Linked DNA regions of Homo sapiens: region 1 is linked to region 2. Evidence: promoter capture Hi-C in human tissues and cell types (Jung and others, 2019). All regions are on one chromosome and are shown on one strand. Each heading gives the region's core, a stretch centred on a gene start or on the middle of the fragment in contact. The rest is flanking DNA. Distances are from core to core; before and after follow the strand shown.

Evidence for each region. Contacts are between HindIII fragments. The study calls those that stand out against the background at their distance.
Region 1: a contact is called between a fragment that was not itself captured here and the fragment with the promoter of ZNF35 in region 2, in 1 of the 25 tissues and cell types used here (heart right ventricle).

What each region holds. Positions count from the first base shown.
Region 1 is chr3:45,660,582-45,664,260 of GRCh38, reverse strand. The region is part of intron 2 of LIMD1 (LIM domain containing 1); the gene reads right to left. Among named protein-coding and RNA genes, the nearest start is that of LIMD1-AS1, 26 kb to the left of the region's middle. The HindIII fragment of the contact is 5,401 bases long and covers 1-3,679 here.
Region 2 is chr3:44,647,196-44,650,906 of GRCh38, reverse strand. ZNF35 (zinc finger protein 35) reads right to left here and starts at 2,175. Exons shown (of 4, transcript NM_003420.4): 1 at 2,073-2,175. ZNF660-ZNF197 (ZNF660-ZNF197 readthrough) reads right to left here. Exons shown (of 8, transcript NR_147692.2): 8 at 2,436-3,711. It overlaps ZNF197 (zinc finger protein 197), which reads right to left. Exons shown (of 6, transcript NM_006991.5): 6 at 2,436-3,711. The region is part of intron 2 of ZKSCAN7-AS1 (ZKSCAN7 ZNF cluster antisense RNA 1); the gene reads left to right. RefSeq lists enhancers at 1,693-1,802, 1,883-2,052, 1,931-2,490. The HindIII fragment of the contact is 5,730 bases long and covers 1-3,711 here.

The DNA.
Region 1 (3,679 bases), core at 139-2,638, 1.0 Mb before region 2:
GCTGACACGGGAGGATCACTTGAGGTCAGGAGTTTGGGACCAGCCTGGCCAACATGGTGAAACTTTGTCTCTACAAAAGGTACAAAAATTGGCCGGGCACAGTGGCTCAAGCCTGTAGTGCCAGCACTTTGGGAGGCTGAGGCAGGTGGATCACCTGAGGTCAGGAGTTCGAGATCAGCCTGGCCAATATGGTGAAACCCCATCTCTACTAAAAATACAAAAAAGAGCTGGGCATGGTGGCATGCACCTGTAACCCCAGCTACTTGGGAGACTGAGGCAGGAGAATCGCCTGCACCTAGGAGGCGGAGGTTGCAGTGAGCCGAGATCATGCCACTGCACTCCAGCCTGGGTGACAGAGGGAGACTCTGTCTCAAAAAAAAAAAAAAAAAAAATTAGCCAGGCATGGTGCCACGCACTACTTGGGAGTCTGAGGCAGAAGAATCACTTGAACCCAGGAGGTGGAGATTGCAGTGAGTCAAGACTGGGCAACAGAGCAAGACTCTGTCTCAAAAATAAATAAATAAAATAAATTAAAATAGTATTAGTACCTAAGACACAAAGAACACCAATTAATAAGAAAAAGATAAATAATCCAATGGGGAAATGAGCAAAGGGCAGGAAGAGAAAGTGCATAGAATAGAAAACCTGTTATACCTTAGGAATAACCAGGATTATTAATCATAACCCCAATATCTATAATAAAAAGATGTTCTATCCTATCAACAATCAGGATAATGCAAACTAAAACCACAATGAGATTCTATCTCACTTTCATAGATTGGCAAAAATTACTAAATCTAATAGCATGTCTTGGAAGGTGTGGGACAAGAGGAGCCCTTTCACACTGGTGGGAGTATCATCAACTGGGATGACTACTTGGGAACAATTTGTCAAGGGCCAATAGATCTGAAAATACACATAATCCACAACACACTTCTAAGGTTGCCCCTTGAGAAGATTACCCAAACATGCATGAGGACAGACATGTATGGATGTTCACGGCAACGTTGTTATGGAAAAACTAGAAGCGTCTTCAGTGTTCACTAGATATGAGAATTGATAAATAGACGAAGAAACTGGAGCTGTATTTACTGGATGTAATACCAGACAGCAGTCAAAATGAAAGGGCTAGATCTATGCATATCATTATTAATTGAACTGAACACCAGTGCAAATAAGGCAAAATGCCTGAAGATATACCAATGATCGTATATGTGTAAGTTTGAGAGTGCGCACACACACATACACAAACTAGTACTGTTTTGTTTTTTTTTTTTGAGACGGAGTCTCGCTGTGTCGCCCAGGCTGGAGTGCAGTGGCACGATCTTGGTTCACTGCAGCCTCTGCCTCCCAGGTTCAAGTGATTCTCCTGCCTCAGCCTCCCAAGCAACTGGGATTACAGGCACTCACCACCATACCCGGCTAATTTTTGTATTTTTAGTAGAGATGGTGGCCAGGCTGGTCTCGAACTCCTGACCTCAGGTGATCCACCCACCTCGGCCTCCCAAAGTGCTGGGATTACAGGTGTGAGCCACCATGCCCGGCCACAAACTAGTACTGTAAACTAGTACTGTATGTTTTTTATTGACAATAGTATATATGGTAACAGTAGGAAAATTTCAATTCATAATGGCAGCTGCCCTAGGGAAGGAAGGGAGAGGATGGGAAAAGGAATCAAGATGATTCCAATTTTTATATAATATTTTATTTCCTTTATAAAAATACAGAATCAAAGCTACAATGTAAAAATGTCTGTGCATTCTGGGTGATAGGTAAATAAGGATTATTTCCTATAGTACTTTCCAGTAGGTTTTAAAATACACACACAATTTTTATATATTTAATTTCCTTTATAAAAAATATCAAACCAAAACTATAATGTAAAAATGTCTGTGCATTCTGGGTGACAGGTAAATAAGGATTATTTCCCATAGTACCTTCCAGTAGGTTTTACACGCGCACACACACACACACACACACACACTTAGGTGAAACACCGTAAACGAAAAGGCAATAACAAACTAGAGCAAACATCTATACTGTATGACAGAAAAGGATGTAACTCTAATATGAAAATAACTCAAGTAACAGTCCTATATAAAAAATGGGTAAAGAATAGGCAGACAAACCACAAAATAAGTATGAATGATCAATAACTATAAAATAAAATCTTTAGCTTTCCTCATGATTTAAAAAATATTGCTGCCAGGCACAGTGGCTCACACCTGTAATTCCAACACTTTGGGAGGCCAAGGTGGGAGGATCACTTGAACCCAGGAGCTCAAGACCAGCCTAGGCAACACAGCAAGATCCCATCTCTACAAATAATAAAAAAGTTAGCTAGGTGTAGTGGGGCACGCCTGTAGTCCCAGCTACTTAGGAGGCTGAGCTAGGAGGATCACTTGTGCCTAGAGGTTGAGACTGCAGTGAGCTGAGATCACGTCTGTGCACGCCAGCCTGGGCAATAGAGTGAGACTCTGTCTCTCCAAAAACAAACAACAACAAAAAACCCTATGCTTTACCTATCAGACTAGCAAAGCTTAAAAAGAATGATAACCCCAGTGTTAGTAATGACACAGACAAACAGATACTTGTTCACACTCTGCAAGGGATAGCAGAAGCTAAAACAAGCTCTTAGGAGAGAAATTTGTATTAAATGTCAGTAGAATTTACAAAGTTCAGATATTTTCTCCCCAAAAATTCTATTTCAGGAATTTATCCTAGTTCCAGAAATCGTCATCTCAGATTTATAATAGCTTGCTAAAAATGAGCATCAAATGTCCAATTCCTATTAAATGATAACCCATATACATGTTGGAATATTATGCAGCCATAAAAAGATTGTGTTTTCAAAAAAATATTTATTGACAGGGAAAAATACTTAAAATATTTTAAAGGAAGTATATAAGTATGTGGGTTACAGTTATGAACACACTCACATATATGATGACAAAATTATGTGTACACTCATACACATAAGATGTACACCAAATTTTAAGTCATTATCTTTGAGTGTAAGAAATAGGTGATTTTCAATTACCATTTTTTCCTGCAATAATTATGCATTATTTTTATAACCTGAAACAAAGTTTAATGGAGTAGGGGAATGTGGGTGGGGGTGCATGGAAGGGATAATAGGACTTACATAGAAGGCCACAACTCTTTAGGTCTCCAAAGCTGCTCTCTTGTCCTCCCCTCAAAGTTACTGTTGCCCTCTCTTCTAGAAGGTCCCCATCCTTGAACGTTCGCAGTATTTTCTGACTCTGCTAAACTAAGGTACCAAGAATGTCTACCTACAGCTGGGTGATCTCAGGGATCATCATCAGAACCCCCTTGACAGCCATGGAAATTAATTTCAGTTACTTAAACTTTCTCTCTATAAAGGGACTCCAGAGAACTCGAAGTTTTAGAAAAGAAAATGAGAACTAACTAGAGTATCTTTCCCATACTTTTCCCACGTCGGACACCTACCTGGGTGACAGCTGATCTGCTGCCCTCTGTCCCTCCCCAGGAACAAGGTGACGAGGAACACAAACAGCCCACCTGGCCGGGCGCGGTGGCTCACGCCTGTGATCCCAGCACTCTGGGAGGCTGAGGCTGTTGGACCACTTGAGATCACGAGTTCGAGACCAGCCTGGCCAACATGGCGAAACCTCATCTCCACTAAAAATACAAAAAT
Region 2 (3,711 bases), core at 926-3,425:
GAGATTTGCTGGATGCCACTTAGCAAATTTGCCGGATGCCACACCGGCAAATTTCACCAGCGCCTGGCCAGGGGCCAATGTAGGACATGGAATCCTCTATTCCTCCCTCATAGGATGAAGGGGTTGGACTATAAATATGTAATATCTTCCCATAATAACCACATTGCAAACAGCTTTATATAATGTTTATTGATTTTTTCCTGATTAAAAGTTAACTTACTTTTATTGTAAAAACTTAAAAGCAGCAAATGATTAAGAAAAATCATCTCGGTCTACCTCCAAAGAGATAACCACTATACATTTTAAGATTTAAGATATTTCTTTCAAAGGAAAATCTCCAACCATACTACTAATAATTATGATTTTACAAATTCTTGTTTTTGACTTTGGGGATACATATTTTCACAATTATCATCATAGCATTTTTTAAAAAAGGATTTTACAACAAAAAGATTTTTTATTGCCAAGGATACAAAATAATGTGAACAAAAGGATCCCAAGAAAAAGACTGGGAGTCTTTATACCAACGTGTTAGCAGTGGGTAGTTAACTCTGGATGGTGTAATTACAGGTAGTTTTAAGGTTCTTTTCATTTTTTTTGTTTGATTTTTACATTTTCCATAGCTTCCAAATGTCCTGTGAGATAAAATATTACACTTAAGATTTAAAAAAAGATTACTTTCATGTTGCCATTCTTCATGCTTATTTTAAATGCTACACAATAACCTATGGTGTTGATAAATCTTCACTCTCATTGAAAAAGGATCAAGTAATACAGAAATATATAGAATTAAATATATAACCTACACACACTACACACACACACACACACACACACAAAGTACTTATCAGTTTAGATGGGAGTCCTAACCCATTTTCTCTGCATTTACATACTTATATGTTCACCTTCACACATATTGCTTATTTTTCAAAAACATACTTTAGATCATCACAGTTATATACTGTTCAGCAACCTGCATTGTTTTTTAACTCAATTTCCGTATTTCACAATAGTCTTAACAATCTTTCAATACAACACATATAGAACTACCTCATTCTGGCATAGTATTCTAAATTGTGGCTATATTATCATTTACTTAATCATATTCTATTTATGAACCATTTATTTAGTAAAAGTTTATATTTCCATTTTATTAATATTTAAAAGTTTTTCTTTGTAAATATTTTTTTTTTGCTGAATTATTCCTTTAGAATAATCAGAGAATTACTGGTTCAAGGATTTGCTGGTTGATATGTACTGTCAAATTGCTTTCCAAAAGCACCATGCCAATTCACACCCCCACTAATTGACAGTAACCCTTTATCACAGCTAAGCCAGCAGGGTTTTTGTTTTTAACCTGTGAGCAAAATAACCTTACTAGTTTGATTGCTTATGAAGAGATTGAAATTTTTCTTTCTAACCCCCTTTGAATGTTTTATTGGAAAAGGGTGCGAAATCTTATTCAATCCCCTGTTGCTGCTATTGAAGTGATCATACTCTTTTCCCCATGTCAACTTACTGGCCACTTACTGTATACACTGAATTTATTAAGTAATGCAATACTTTCATTCCTGTGACAAACCTTAATTCTGGAGGACTATTCTTTCCATCACTATCCGAATTCAATCTGGTATGAAGGTCCTTAAGACTAGTTCCACCTTGTGTATAAGACTGCCTACAGTGAGTACTCTCATCAGACTTCTGATCAGATTCTGACGGACCTCCGGTCCCAGACGGCACAGGGCCCTCTATCAAAGGCTCCCTTTCAACGTCCTTTCTCTATTTCCAAACGTGGCAATCCATTCTTTCCACGTATAGGCTCCTCGCGGCCCTGTCCCTGGGACCTATCTGGCCCCTTGGCCGGTCCGTGTGCATCCTCTCCCGGACCAGGCCCCAGGTGGGCAGCAGCCGGGATTCCGAGGCGGTGGGGAACTCACTGCCCCCCGCACCCCGACAGACAAGGCTGGTGTCCCCGGGGAAAGGACGCAGGGGCCGCTCCTAGGGCCATGGCCCCTGGGAGAGCCCCTTTTTCTCCCTCGACGTTCGTGCCCACCCCCTCCGACCCCACTCACTGTGCGCAGCTGAGAAGCCCGACCTGAGTTCACTGGCTCTGCAGCAGGAGGCTGGCTGACCGGTACTTCAGCTTCTACCGGCACGAGAACAATGACCGGACAGGAAGTGCCTCGGGATGGGCTTCCGGCTCCCCAAGTCGCCAAGCCGGCCTCTCTAGGAACCTCGGAGGTGCTTTCCTCTCGATGGGTGTCCAATGTCGCCCCAGACCAGGGATGGGGCAGAAGCGCTTAGGAGGATTGTGCTGTTGGAAGCTCTAAGTGAGCCTCAGGGAGGGGCGCATCCCAAGCAGGGATGAGACACTCAGGCGAGGCGCGCACCCAAGAGCCTGAAGCTACACAGCATTAATCTGTAGAAAGCCCTGATAATTTCCCCTCAAATGTTTTATTTTGAAAATATCAGAGTACAGAAGAGTTGAAAGTATGGCACATTGAATACCCGTATTTTCCATGTGGACTCAACAATGAACATTTTGCTATGTTTGCCTGATCTCTCAATACATATTTAAAATCATTTTTTTGAAAGTTGTAAACATCAGAACACTTCATTCCAAATACTTCAACATGCATCCCTTAAGATTAAGAATATTCTTCAAACTACCACCACCGTCACAGGTAAGAAAATCAACAAAAATTCCCTAATACCATCTAATAACCAGTCATATTCAAATTTCCCAACTGTCCTAAAACATGTATTTTATAACTTTTTTTCAAATCAGTTTCACACACTTTAGTTGGTTACAGCTCTTTAGTTTTGGGTTTTCGTTGCCATTGTTGGTTTTTACTTTTTATTTTGAAATGATAGAATCACAGGAAGTTGCAAAGATAGCACCCTTCACCCACTTTCCCCTCATGGTTACATCTTACATAAAATGAAAAAGGAAATCAACATTGGTACAGTATGTGTGTATAGGTATAGCACCTATAGATTTGTGTAACCACCACTGCAATCAAGATACACAAGTGTTCCATCACCACAAAGACCTTTCTGGTGCTACCTTTTAATAGTTCCATCCAACCCTCTCCCCATTTTTCCTCCCACCATCCCTAACCTTTGGCAACCATTAATCCATTTTTCATCTCTATAGTTTTATCATTTTGAGAATGTTATATGAATATTTTCATACAGAATATGGCCTTTTGTGATTATTTTCACTCAGCATTAATTCCCTTGAAATTTATTTGAGTTGTTATGGATATCAATAAGTCAATTTTATTGCAGAGTAACAAGTATTCCATGGTAATACATAAACCACAATTTGTTTTAACCACCTAAGGAAGGATATATGGGTTGCCTACAGGTTTCGACCATTACAAATAAAGCTGCTATGAACATTCGTATACAGGTTTTTGTGTGAACGCAAGTTTTCATTTCTCTGGGATAAATGCTCAGAAGTGCAATTCCTGAAGCATGACATATACATGTGTGGTTTTACAAGAAACTGCCAAATTATATTCCAGAGTGGCTGTACCATTTTACATTCCCAGCAATGTATGAGATCCTGTTTCTCTTCATCCTTGCCAGCAGTTACCACCATTAAAAAAAAAAAGTTAAGCTATTCTGATAGGTGATATCTCACGATTTTACTCTGCATTTCCCTCATGCCTAATGATGTTGAACATCTTTTCATTTGCTTATTTG